3 separate regions of the Homo sapiens genome follow, and regions 1 and 2 are each linked to region 3. The links are contacts of gene promoters, found by promoter capture Hi-C in blood cells and fetal thymus (Javierre and others, 2016). All regions are on one chromosome and are shown on one strand. Each heading gives the region's core, a stretch centred on a gene start or on the middle of the fragment in contact. The rest is flanking DNA. Distances are from core to core; before and after follow the strand shown. Region 1 overlaps ERN1 (endoplasmic reticulum to nucleus signaling 1). Region 2 has its middle 8.6 kb from the start of TEX2. Region 3 holds the start of SMARCD2 (SWI/SNF related BAF chromatin remodeling complex subunit D2).

Region 1 (4,507 bases), core at 1,709-4,208, 280 kb after region 3:
ATGTTCACGCTCAGTCCCTCATATTTGCTCAGGATTTTCAGACATACCTGAGGACTATCAACACCAGTCCTCCAGAAGATTAGACAAGAAACAAACAGGAGCACCAACCTGTACATTACCCCAACACTAAGTGACGTGGTGCTATTTGGAGTGCAGGAAGGGATCTAGTCTACGAGAGTACAGTGGTCAGGGAAGGCCCTAGGCCCTATACAAGACAGGTGAGCGAGAGCCGATGAAACCACACCACGGTGTGTGGCAACTTACGAGGCCTCCATCTCCCTTGCTCTGCTCTATGTTTCTCCCCTGCAACCCCTGCAGAATTTTATCACCTTATCACATTCTATATAATGTATTTACCATGCTGTTGTCTATCCCAACCAACTAGGTAGAAGTTCCATGAGGGCGGGGGTCTTTGTTTTGTTCATGTTTCCCAAGCATCTCAAACAGTGCTTGGCATAAAATATGTACTCAAAAAGTTGATAAATAAATGGATGAACAGATGAAATTCACTACATTCAAGAGCTAGGAAGCTGGGAGGCTCAAAGCAAAGCAGCCCTCCCATCTTCTACCTCCCCGTATGAGGCTGCACCAGAAAAAGAGGCGGCTGGGGGACTAGTCGCTTTCACCTAAATGGTGATCCTAATTTGGGAAGACATTTGGAAACAGGCCCACCAAAGAGATTTTCTGGTTCCGTTGCTTTGTTTTACAGATGAGGAAGCAGAGGGGGAAATAACTCATTTGCCCAAAGTTGCACAGCTAGCTAGTACAGAACCTCCGGACTCTCACTTGCTGAAAGAATGCATACAATTTCATCATATGGGGCAAACACACATATAGAAACAAGATACTGGCCCTATGATTACATTTAAAAACAGCTAAAATGATTTTACATTTAAAAACAGCTAAATGCCTATCTGCTCAAGGAGTGCAGAACTGGTCTGCCACTTGGGATTTCCTTTAAGCATTAAGTTAAATTAGGAAACAGCCCTGGTGCTGGAGTCCACACAGCGCTTTCAGGCCAGGTGCCAAGCCCCATTCCAAGGTTGTATTCAAAGAGCGGGCTCCCAATTCTACTGACATTTGTCAACTTGGTTCCAGCAGAGTTTTGGATTTGGTCCAGCCCACTCAATGTGATGCTTGAAAGCAAGTGTCCTCCTGTTTCTAAACCAGCTAATAAAGATCCTCTGAGAAACAACTGAGATGGGTCCGGGAGCTGAGACAACTGACTGGTCCTCTCCTGTGTTCTACAGTTGGGCTTGTCAGCTCGGCACCTGCTATAAAAACCCTTCGAGGGAACTCTGCCTGACTCAGGCAATGAGGCTAATAGCCAGCTCTCACATGAAAAGGGGAAGGGAGTGTCACAGCCTGCACCCTCCCACCATTTGCTTCCAAAACATATGTTCCCACCCTGATAGGAAAGTTCCTGTTGGTTCACAAGCTTCTTCTTGTGCTTTAACTAACTCACTCCTTCTACAAATCCCTTCTCCTCACTCGCAATGGCTATTTCATTTTTGTTATGGAAGGTTCTTTTAAAACCATGAAGATGATTTTACCCATCAGGATACTGTGAAGGAGCCTGGAAAACAACATTGTTTTGATTTCTTAAGCCTCTTAATATATGGAAAAGGCAATAAACAAATATATAAATAAATAAACAAGCATAAGTCGGGTAACTTTAAATAAACATTTAAACATCTTACAATTCAGTAACTAAATATGTTTTAATATAAGGCCTATTAGTTAAAGCTGATAAAAGCAATTTCAACAGTTTGTATTCAAAGGAAAAAATCCATTAAATTACCTGCTCTTTAAAAGTTGAATGATATAGTACAGTAGAGAAAATGTAATATTAGGTTCCTTTTTTTCTAGGTTTTTTTTTTTTTTTTTTTTTTTTTTTTTGAGATTGAGTTTCACTCTTGTTCCCCAGGCTGGAGTGCAGTGGTGGGATCTTGGCTCACTGCAACCTCTGCCTCCTGGGTTCAAGCAATTCTCCTGCCTCAGCCTCCCAAGCAGCTGGGATTACAGGCACGCGCCACCACGCCTGGCTAATTTTTGTCATTTTTTTAGTAGAGACGGGGTTTCACCATGTTGGCCAGGCTGATCTCCAACTCCTGACCTCAGATGATCCGCCCGTCTCAGCCTCCCAAAGTGCTGGGATTACAGGCATGAGCCACCACGCCTAGAACTAGAAATAAAGTTAGAACTTTATTTCTAGTTCTAACACTAACTAGCGGACTCTATCAATCCTAACCTCTCTGTAAAATGAGCCAAATGCTGTGTCTAGTCTGGTCCCGTGCTCTGTGACGTGACTGGGAATTTGGAGATGCATTTGTTCTTTCCAGGATTAAGGTACAAAAATTACTTGAAGGCCTCATCCTGGCTGCACATCAGAGTCACTTGGGCCTTAAAACATTTTTTGCTGGTTTATTTGGTAGAGATGGGGTCTTTCATTGTTGCCCAGTCTGGTCTCAAACTCCTGACTTCAAGTGATCCTCTTGTCTTGGCCTCCCAAAGTGCTGGGATTACAGGTGTAAGCCACTGAGCCTGGCCTTAAACATTTTTTTTTTAAAAAAGAAAAGATGCCGGCCCCCACTCCCAGAGATTCCAATTTCATTCACATAGGATGGGGCCCCAGCACAGCGTTTTTAAAAAGCTCCCCAGGTGACTGAGTCATGGCTGGGAAGCACCGCCTCAAGTAACACATTCCTAGCCACAGTTGTGGCCCCCTGTACAGGTGATTCTCTCACTCCTAGTGGCCCCTCAGGAGTCATGGGCCATTTGCTTTAAGAGAAGAGAGATCTGATTTACCTTGGTCAACAAACTTCTCTGACTCAACTGGAGATCAATGACAATGTCAGGTTCTAGGGATGTGACAGCACTGTTTGTTCAGAGAATGTACAGAAAAATTCGGTTTCCATGACAGACACTCCTGCAGCCCAGACAAACAATTATTCCTTCATCTGACAGAGAGGGGGGAAATAATCCACTGGAGAATGGGATGGTTTTGAATTATAATTATAAATTAGTCTACTAACAAAGGAAGTCATGTTTAATACATGAGAGGACAACTCTGGGCCAAGGTTCATTTTTTTAACAGTGAAACATCATGCTGAGTGAAAAATGAAACTGACATGAAATAATCACAAACTGTTTACCTCATGGAGTTTGGCAATGGAAAAATTAATCTCATTACTGATAAGAAGAGCCCACCAAAAGAACACTACACACTATGGGTCACGTCCACCCAAGCAAATATCCTGAAAGCTCCTCTAGTTCTGTAGAAAGACACACAACTGGTGCAATCCCATTAAAGAATATAAAATATAGCTGAAGCAATACCTCCCACCCCCATCCACAACCCACTTGCTTGATGATATAATACAGCCCCTTTATTGGTCTTAATGAGTCTCAAAGAAGAATTCAATAAATATTTGCTGAGTGCCCCCTACAGTGGGTATAACCAGCATGCCACGTTAAATGCCACAGAGGATGCAACCATCAGCAAGCCAGGGTCCCTGCCTTCTCGGATGAACCAGCAAGGGAAGTGAGACACACTCCCAGGGGCACCTTCCTTCCCCCCTTGCTCCTTCCTTCCCTCATTAGTCTCCTCTGAGAGCTACCTAAGCTAACTTGAATCCCTCCATTGTGGTTTAAGAGCCAGAGTCACAGCCACTGTCTCTCTCCTGTCATCACAGACCTGCTCCCTGGTGCCAGAACTGCTTGGCAGGTGGCGCCTCTGCAAAGGCAAACACCCAGAACCAGCACGGTAATGCAAGAGTTCTATCTTTTCAGGACTTCTTGGTGAAGGCTGTGACTGAGCTAGAGAAGAGCGGCTTGGGTTAAAGGCCTCTAAGGAAAGAACTTTCAGTTTTGTTCTTTCAGACATATGACTAGGCGAGATGTTACTGAAAACATGCACCTGCTTGGATATTATTAGACTCCAAGCAAAGAAATTAGCTTAAACTGTGAATTAGGCTTAGCAGGCAATTTTTTGTTGTTGTTGTTGAGACGGAGTCTCTGTTGCCCAGGCTGGAGTGCAATGGCAGGATCTCAGCTCACTGCAACCTCCGCCTCCCAGGTTCAAGCGATTCTTCTGCCTCAGCCTCATGAGTAGCTGGGATTACAGGTGCCCGCCACCATGCCTGGCTAATTTTTGTATTTTTGTAGAGATGGGGTTTCACCATGTTGGCCAGGCTGGTCTTGAACTCCTGACCTTATGATCCGCCCGCCTCAGCTTCCTGAAGTGCTGGAATTACAGGCGTGAGCCACTGTGCCCAGCCGAGCAGGCTTTTAATCCCTACTCTCTCCATGATTGCTGGATTTGACTCTACAGTTGAAAATGGCCAATTTCCTTGATGGAGACTCTCAGGTGAAGGCAGCATTCCCATCTCAAAATGGCATCTTCGCACAACTGCAACAAAGGGTAGAAGGCCATGATTCTTAACGGAGGAAAAATAACATTATCTGGGTATTTTCCTGAAGCTTACAAGAAAGCCTACTGGCCTAG
Region 2 (4,362 bases), core at 167-2,666, 430 kb after region 3:
GGAAATGTTGGAATTGCTAGCTTTCATCATTTCCATATGGTTACTTAGCACCCATTTTCTGATTTAGAAGCAAAGATATTTGGGTGAGAGTTTAGGCAAGGAAAATGTTTGGATCTGTGAGAGTTGCCCAGAAAACAGAGCTTGAGACAAAAGCTTGTGTGTGAATACACTACTGGGGGGTGTGAGCCCAGGGAGCATAATTGAGGCTCCGGGAACTGACGCAGGGAGGGAGGCAGAAGCACTTGAGTGCGTGTCACTGGGGTGGCCACATTCCTGGCTGCTTGATTTGGAGGGAACTGTCTGAGGACTGTAAGAAGTGTCTCAGGACCCGCCCCTGGGGTAAAGGGGAGGGCACTTACCCACTGGCCCCTTCCCCATAGGTAAAAGGCTCTGCACACCTGCCTGAGCCGAGCTTCCAGAATGCACTGGCTTGGCACTGAATGGGTTCCAGTGCTTTCTAAGCTGCAGTGTCAGAAGAGATGCCCTGGGCTGGGTTTGAGAGATGGCAGCTGCAGGCCTGAGGCAAGATACTGTCAGTTTACACCTGCCAGAGCTGCTGGGAACATTCACAGTTCTCACTGCCACAGCAGTGGCTGGAAGGATCTCAGAGGGTGTTTAAGAGGTGTGTGGTACAGACTATTTTCAAAAAGAGGGATAAATTTGGAGCCAAAAAAGATATCTTAAGTTAGGATGGAGGGATATAAGATATCAAATGTCTTTTAATGTTACAGTATTCTTTTAGGGAGGCAGCATTAGGCTAGTGGCTTTGAGGTCTTTTCAACCTGGGCTCAGATTTCGACCTGGGTTCAGGGTCCACTTCTATTGTTTCTGAGTTGTGTGACCTTGGAGAAGCTATTGAACTCCCCTGAGCCCCTCATCTAGAAATTGCCGATGTCCACATCCTACAGTTTTGTAAAGATTGTGTATGTAAATTGCTTAGTATAGCATCTTTACATAATAGTTGCCCAATTAATGGAAGCTGATGTTTTTTACTATAGAGAAAATTACTGATCATGGAATGTAAGGCATGCAGGAAGACAATGGGGTGATGTGCTAAAGCCTCAAAAATCAAAAATAGAAGTGAAAGAAGATATCATATGGTTGCAGGAAACCAAAAAGATTTCTAAATGTTCCGAACAACCAAGCAGCTTCTGTCTACAATGACTACGTATCCTGGCATTTCCAAGACAGCATCCATTTGAAATATTCTCTCTGGTTGTCCCAGTACATAAATTCATATTTGAGAGGCAGTCACCTCGATCTTGAACCAGAAAACAGCATCATAGGTCTACCCCACCCAGGAGGGAAAACATCGGCTCCTAGTTTCCTTTGCTCCACCCACTCCTGGAGTGTCAAAAACATAACCCTTCTTTTCTGAGATTCTTCCTCCAACACCTCGCCTGAAGGGGCAGTTTTGTTTTCAGAAGTGAGTTAACTAACAGTCACAGGCCTTTCAGAAGAACCGGAAACTTGCAGTGCAATGGATACCCCACAGCAGAGGAGGAACCAAAATCCACAGGTGGAGAACCCCCCACCTTTAACCTCTGCCCCATCCCCGCACCCTCTCCTGCTGAGCCTGTGGGATCCACCGCAGCAAGAAATGGTTTGGGTTTTTCTGTTATGAACATGATAGAAGCTCATTTAGAATATTTTTAAAACAAAGAAACATAGAAACATAGAAGAAGGAAGAAAAGACTCATTTTCTTTTATTTTTTTTGAGACAGAGTCTGGTTCTGTCACCCAGGCTGGAGTGCAGTGGCGCGATCTTGGCTCACTGCAACTTCTGCCTCCCAGGCTCAAGCAACTCTCCCGCCTCAGCCTCCCGAGTAGCTGGGATCACACAGACACGCATCACCACGCAAGATTATAGACACATCCCTTCTCTGCTGCTAGTTTTCTGTGTGGTCCTCTAGACTGGGAGCTCTGTGAACAGTGAGCCCCTTCTGACTGGTCCTCTGTTACATCCTGACAGTTGAGCTCTGATAGGTTAAAGATGGCCACTTAGTCGTGACTGTTCCCTCATCCACAGCTATAGCTTATTTCTCCATCCCTTGGAATCTTGGGCTGGCCTTGTGAGGTAGCCAACTTCCAGAATGACCCCCATGATTCTCACTTCCTGGTCATTCATGCTTTTTCATAATCTCTCCTTCCACCATGAGTCAGGGGTCACAATAGATACAGTATGGTGGAAATGGCAATGTATGACTTCTCAGGCTAGCTTATGAAGGGCATTTGGGTTGCTGCCTTGGTCTCCTGGATTACTTGCTTGGGGAATAGTACCCATCAGGTTGTGAAGATACTCAGGCAGCCTGTGGAGAGGCTGATGTGCAGAAAAACTGAGACTACCCACCAACAACAAGCACCAATTTGTCAATTATATGAGTAAGCCACCTTGGAAATGGATCCTCCAGCCCCAGTCAAGCCTTCAGATGAGTGCAACCTTGGCCAACATTTTCACTGCAATCTCACGGACACTCCCAACCTGAACTGCCCAGAAAAACTGCTCCATAATTCCTCACCCACAGAAACTGTGAGAGATAAATGTTTATCATCATTTTAAACCACTACATTTTGGGATTATTATGCAACTATGAATAAAACACCCCATGACTGGCTTTGTCCAATAGAATGCAGCAGCTGTGATATTCTGGAACTTCTAAACTCAGGCCTTAGGAGAACTGAAGCTTTCACTTCTTGACTTTAGGAATCCAGGCACCATGCTGTAAGAAGCCCAGGCCACATGGAGAAACCACAGAAGAGAACTGAGGCACTCCAGGTGAAAGCCCCACTGAACCTCATAGCCAACAGTCAGCATTGATTGCCATATCTGTGCATGGACCATCTTGGAGGTTCCAGCCGTGTCATGTCCTAGACACCTGCAGCCTTAGCTATCACCACAGAGAGCAAAACACACAGTTGAGCTCAGTCAACCCACAGAAATGTGACATAATAAAATGGCAGTTGTTTTCAGCCCCAGTTTTGGGGTGATGTTTTGTACTGCAATATTTAACCATAAGCTGGCTCAGCTTCTGGCATCTAATTGACTCTTGAAAAATACCTGGTGGGCCAAGCACAGTGGCTCACACCTGTAATCCTAGCACTTTGGGAGGCCAAGGTGGGCAGATTGCCTGAGCTCAGGAGTTCGAGACCAGCCTGGGCAGCATGGTGAAACCCCATCTCCACTAAAATATAAAAAATTAGCCAGGTGTGGTGGCATGTGCCTGTAATCCCAGCTACTTGGCAGGCTGAGGCAGGAGAATTGCTTGAATCCGGGAGGGGGAGGGTGCAGTGAGCCGAGATTGTGCCACTGTACACTCCAGCCCGGGCGACAGTGAGACTCCGTCTCCAAAAAAAGAAAAGAAGAGAAAAATATCTGGTGAACACATGGGTGTCCCTTGTTGAGTCTCAGCTTCCTCTTCTGTAACATCGCAGAGGTTAGGCTATTCCATGCCTCACGTTCTACTAGTCTCCACCTCTCTGTGGTGGTGTGTCTCCTAGCCCAGCTGCCTGCTGCAGGGTCACACTTTATTCTTGCAGGAACTCCAGCATCTGTGGCGTCTCTGTCCTCCACCGCATGCTAGTTCCTCCTCCCTTCTTTCTGAGGCACTCACACACCCCAGGTACCCGCTTCCTCCTGAAGCTCTCCTGGCGTTTTGATCATGGGGCTGTGAGGTTTGGCAGGAGGAGAGCAGTACAGGCCCTCTGCCTTTTGGGTTACACCTCCTCAGTTCAGCCAGAGGATGCTAGAAATGTTCCCAAAAGGGCCCTGTGACACACAGGTGACAAGAGGAACAAACGCAGACTGTCTGCCATCTACCCTTCCTCAAGGCCAAGTCCTGGAGTTGTCTTTTTGCTAGAACATGACTGGCCTCTTTCACAGTGTCCAGAGCCCAGGCTACATTTCTTAGAACAGAGATGAGAACCCTGCTTCTGAGAACAAATGCTCAGCCTCGGGCTTATTAGGTTCCCTTATTTGCCACAGAAACACCAGGATCGGCCGGGCCCGGTGGCTCACACCTGTAATCCCAGCATTTTGGGAGGCCAAGGTGGGTGGATCACCTGAGGTGAGGAGTTTGAGACAAGCCTGGGCAACATGGCAAAACCCCGTCTCTACTAAAAATACAAAAATTAGCCGGGCGTGGTGCCGGGCACCTGTAATCCCAGTTACTTGGGAGGCTGAGGCAGGAGAATTACTTGAACCCAGGAGGTGGAGGTTGCAGTGAGCCAAGATCGTGCCACTGCACTCCAGCCTAGGTGAAAGAGTGAGACTCTGTCTCAAAAAAAAAAAAAAAGAAACATCATGATCACTTTTACTAGTGGTGCCTACGGCCATCTGGGGGCAGGGAGTAGATCTCTGTCATT
Region 3 (4,340 bases), core at 713-3,212:
ATAGGATCCTCTTCAAACTCAGCCAAAGTTAGCTGGCTGGGTTCTCCTTCCCATCTACCTCTCCTGCCAGGAGGAGGAAAGCTAGTGGGATGGGAAACCCAGACTCAGGGCCATCTCCTACTTCCGCACAGCTAGCAGCCCAGGCCTAACCAGCCAGCCAGCTTGGCCTTGCCACAGGCCCAAGGCCACCCCCCACCAAAACATGTGGAATCCATCCTCTCAGGGGCTGTCCCAAGGGCACATTTCCTATGGCTTGCATGCCAAGGAAACTGGAGCGGCTTGTCTGTTCCAGGTCCTTCCAAGGCCAAAGGCCCACAGATGGTGCCCAGGCCAGGTCTCAGTGGGCAGGCCCAAGGGCTACAATGAATGATGCAGGGAGCCCTCAGCAACACCCTGGGCCCATGAATCCCCAACGGGGACAGCAAGGTGGGAGAGATGAGCCCCAGCTGGAATCCCTGGGACCAGGTCTGTCTCTGCCCATACCCAGACTCTCTTTTCTCTTGAGAAAGGAGGAAGAATGAGGAGTAAGAAGGAAAAAAAAATCCAGTCACTGTCCCTAGTTAAGCCATCTCCTTAGAAGTGAGGGCCCAGTGGGGCAGGTAGGCTGTGTATACTCCACGAGGATCCCTAAGGACCTCTGCCTGGAGACATGAGTCGAAAACAGAGGAAGCCCACAGCAAACCCGTAGATGAGCAAGAAGCCAGTGTCAAATGCTTGGGCACATGGCTTCGGACGTGGTGGAGTTAGAACCTGAAGGCCAAATAAAAATGCAGAGAGGGTGACAAGGCAGATGGGCACAGTTTCCAAGCCCTCTGGGGCAACCTGAACAGCAGACTAGAGCACTGGCAGGGTCAGGCTGAGGTCCTCACACACTGAGCAGAAGTCGCTGCTTTGCAAGGGCTTTTGAAGCTGCAATCTGAGCAGCTCTCAAAACCCCAAAGGGGTCAGGACAGCACTCTTTGAAGCAACTCTCGCAGACTCCTCCGGCCCCAGACCAGCAGGGCTCCACTCTGCACGTCCAGACTAATCAACTCCCGGACACGATGACAGGAGGCAGAAAGCCCAGAAGAGAGCCGGCCTGTGACTGGGCTGGGCCTCCCCTCAGGCCAGGCCACCACCGTCTCTGGTCTAAGCTGGAGTCCTCCCAGCGAAGGCGCCTGGCCCTGCCTCAGGAGTAAAGTCCGCCCGTGCACAAGCTGGAATCCCCTGGCCCTAGCCTCAGCGTCCCGTGCCCGTGGGAAGCCAGGCTCCTTCCTCCTTATTAGCAGCCGGGAGCCATCTCAGACACGCTAGAGCTCCGCCAGTTCCCAATCAGAAAAAACAGGGCAGACTTGGACTGGGACCAAGGCCGATGCAGGGTAACCCCGGTTTCTCAGCGAGGGCCCTTTCCCAAACTTTCTCATCACTTTCCAGCCCTCCTACCCTAGACTTCTCAACCCACCCGCCACAATTCACTGGCTCCCCAAACTCCTCCATCTCCCAGTCACTCGGAATCCCTGTGCCGCGGAAGCCCCCAGGCCTCCCAGCTGCTTCCAGCCCTCCGCTGCAGAACCTGCTTCCCCTTCCCACTTCTCCACCGCGACCCGCCGCAGCCCGAGGGTCCCGGCCCGCCCTCCACCGTCTCCCGGAGTTCCTCATGCATTCCCCAGGGCCCTCACTCGAGGCCCCTTCAGCCGCCGGCCCGGGCGCCCTCGCAGCGCCTCTCGCCCCCGTCCGCTCGCGTCCTCCTTGCTCACCTGGTACTGCGCCGCGGGGCCCGCGGGGCCCATGGGGCGGAAGGCGGCGGCCCCGGGGCCCCCCACGCCTCCTGCCGGACCCGGTCCCCGGAGCGCCGGTCCGGGCAGCATGCCGGGTCCCGCGGGGGGAGGCGGCGCTCCCAGGGCCGCAGCCACGGCGCCGCCGCCAGGGCTTAGCGGGGGCAGCGGGAACCCGCCCGCGCCTCGGCCCGACATCGCTCCGTCCCGTCCCGCGGTGCCGCGATCCGGACTCCGGGCTCCGCGTCGAGTCCACTCCGTGCTCTGTGCTCCGCGATCCGGGACTTGGCGATCTTAATTCCGGGTTCCGGGATTTGTCGATCCGGGCTCCGGGATTTCCTAATCCAAGTTCGCGAGTTCCTCACAGACCCGGTTCGGGACAGATTCCGCTCCTGCCCGGGAGATTCCGGATCCAGGATCTGCTGCGGGCCCGCCTTCCGTCCCCGGCCTCCGGAGGTTTGGCCGCCCGAGTCGAGTTACCCAGAGGCGGCTACGAACTCCCTGCCCCGCCCAACCCAGCCCAGCACTAGGCCCCGCCTCTACCTGGTGCCCAATGCTCGAGTGCCTCCTCGAATCCTGCCCCTCGCGAGACCCGCCCCCAGCGGGCACCGCCCCTAACTGCCGACCTCAGAGCCCCACCCCCCCACCTTTGGCCCAGCCTTTCGTCGGAGGGGCGGGAGCGGAAGCTGCGCGCGGAAGCGCCGAGTGAGGCGCGGGGTCAGAGGTCTAAGGTCACTTAGGGGCTTCACAGTGAATGAGCCGTTGCTACTACTCTCTCCCGGTATAGCACCCTCACCGAATTCCGCGGCCACACTCCCCGAAAATAGTTTTGTCAAGTCTCCTTTCTGCATCTTCGGCGTTAAAGACTCAACTCAGAGTCGGTAGCTGTGGCTCACGCCTGTAATCCCAGCGCTTTGGGAGGCTGAGGCGGGCGGATCCCCTGAGGTCAGAAGTTCGAGACCAGCCTGGCCAACATGGTGAAAACCCCGTCTCTACTAAAAATACAAAAATTAGCCGAGTGTGGTGACGGGCGCCTGTAATCCAAGCTACTCGGCAGGCTGAGGCAGGAGAATCGCTTGAACCTTGGAGGCAGAGGTTGCAATGAGCCGAGATCGCCCCACTGCACTCCAGCCTGGGCGGCAAGAGTGAAACTCATCAAAAAAAAAAAAAAAAAAAAAAAAGACTCAGCTGCTCTGTGGGGCAGAACAGCAGCCAACTCAACTTCCTGTAAAAGCTCATGCTGGTAGCTCGGAACTGCCAAGGGACCTAGGAGGCTCCAGACTTGACCCAGCTGGTGAACGGTCGACTTGGCCAAGGCTGAGTTCTACCGCACATTTTTAACGTGGCTCCGCCTCACTTTAAGGAAGCCTGGTACTTTACTCCCCAGAAAATGCTTCTAGTCAAAAGAAATTTGGCTTATGAGAAACCTCCCCGCAGTTTAAAAAAAGAGGTCTTTCTCCAGTATTTATAGCACTTAATTTTCAAAAATGCAGTATCTTTTCAGGTACACTGTGCTGTATCAAAGTATTCAAAAATGCGTCAGCTGTGCCAGGGAGCCTACCCTCTGATGGTCTGGATCTCCTCGCCGTGATATGGACCAGTGCTGCTTAAACTTTAATGAGCACATAAAAAACACTCGAGGCTCTTATTAAAAATGCAGATTGTGGCAGGGCCCAGGACTCTGCATTTGTAACAAGCTGCCAGCGATGCTGTTGCTTCTCAGACCACACTGTCAAGAAGCCGGGATCTAGACTTTTTTTTTTTTTTAGTTTTTTTACTATAATTGCTTTATTTTTCCAGCCCCAACCAAGTAATACTTCCTTCCTTGCATCATAGCACCCCAGATCTTTTTTACAGTATAGTTCTCCAGTGCTTTTTAGAAATTAGTTCTCCTCATGCCTCTAGTGATAAACACCGCTGCTGCTGTTTTCTTACCTCCTGAACTTAGAGATCCCACTCTATTGCCCCAAGAGTCGATAACCTGTCAGTCTGGGGACTGGCCACTGGAATTGTTAAAGTCACTGAATCATGGCCCCTCCCATCCCTGTAAAGTGGGTTAAGAGTTCATGATAAGGCAGCTAATATCCATTTCAATCCTTTTAAGCTTCTAGAACAACAGTAATTCTCAAAGTGATAGGGGCAGTGGAGAATCAGAGTCCTCTGGGAAGCTACTCCAAAATACCTCCGCCAGCCACCCCTCCAATCCAATGGCTCTCAGTATTGTATTTGAAAAATAAGCTTCCTAGGTAATTCTGATGCGACCCAGTGGGTCGCATCAGAAAACACAAGATTTTTTCTACCCTAGAAAAGGGGCAAGCTAATAAGTGCATTTAAAAGCAGATCAGCTGGGTGGAGTGGCTCACACCTGTAATCCCAGCACTTTGGGAGGCCAAGGTGAGTGGATCACTTGAAGTCAGGAGTTCGAGACCAGTCTGGCCAAGATGGTGAAACCATGTCTCTACTAAAAATATAAAAATTAGCTGGGCGTGGTGGTGCACACCTGTAATCCCAGCTACTCAGGAGGCTGAGGCACGAGAATTGCTTGAACCCAAGAGGCAGTGGTTGCAGTGAGCAGAGATCGTGCCA

Evidence for each region. Contacts are between HindIII fragments. The CHiCAGO score rates a contact against its expected background, and 5 or more counts as called.
Region 1: a fragment that was not itself captured here is called in contact with the fragment with the promoter of SMARCD2 in region 3 in 2 of 17 cell types (total B cells and total CD8 T cells); the score reaches 5.5 in total B cells.
Region 2: a contact is called between a fragment that was not itself captured here and the fragment with the promoter of SMARCD2 in region 3, in 2 of 17 cell types (total CD4 T cells and fetal thymus). The highest score is 6.3, in total CD4 T cells.

What each region holds. Positions count from the first base shown.
Region 1 is chr17:64,117,507-64,122,013 of GRCh38, forward strand. The region is part of intron 1 of ERN1 (endoplasmic reticulum to nucleus signaling 1); the gene reads right to left. Among named protein-coding and RNA genes, the nearest start is that of ERN1, 10 kb to the right of the region's middle. RefSeq lists enhancers at 3,532-3,591, 3,822-3,961. The HindIII fragment of the contact is 3,044 bases long and covers 1,437-4,480 here.
Region 2 is chr17:64,269,641-64,274,002 of GRCh38, forward strand. No RefSeq gene overlaps it. Among named protein-coding and RNA genes, the nearest start is that of TEX2, 8.6 kb to the left of the region's middle. The HindIII fragment of the contact is 2,531 bases long and covers 152-2,682 here.
Region 3 is chr17:63,840,723-63,845,062 of GRCh38, forward strand. SMARCD2 (SWI/SNF related BAF chromatin remodeling complex subunit D2) reads right to left here and starts at 1,963. Exons shown (of 13, transcript NM_001098426.2): 1 at 1,737-1,963. The coding sequence starts at 1,952. RefSeq lists an enhancer at 886-965, silencers at 1,686-1,915, 2,286-2,455 and a cis regulatory region at 3,565-3,954. The HindIII fragment of the contact is 8,345 bases long and covers 1-3,856 here.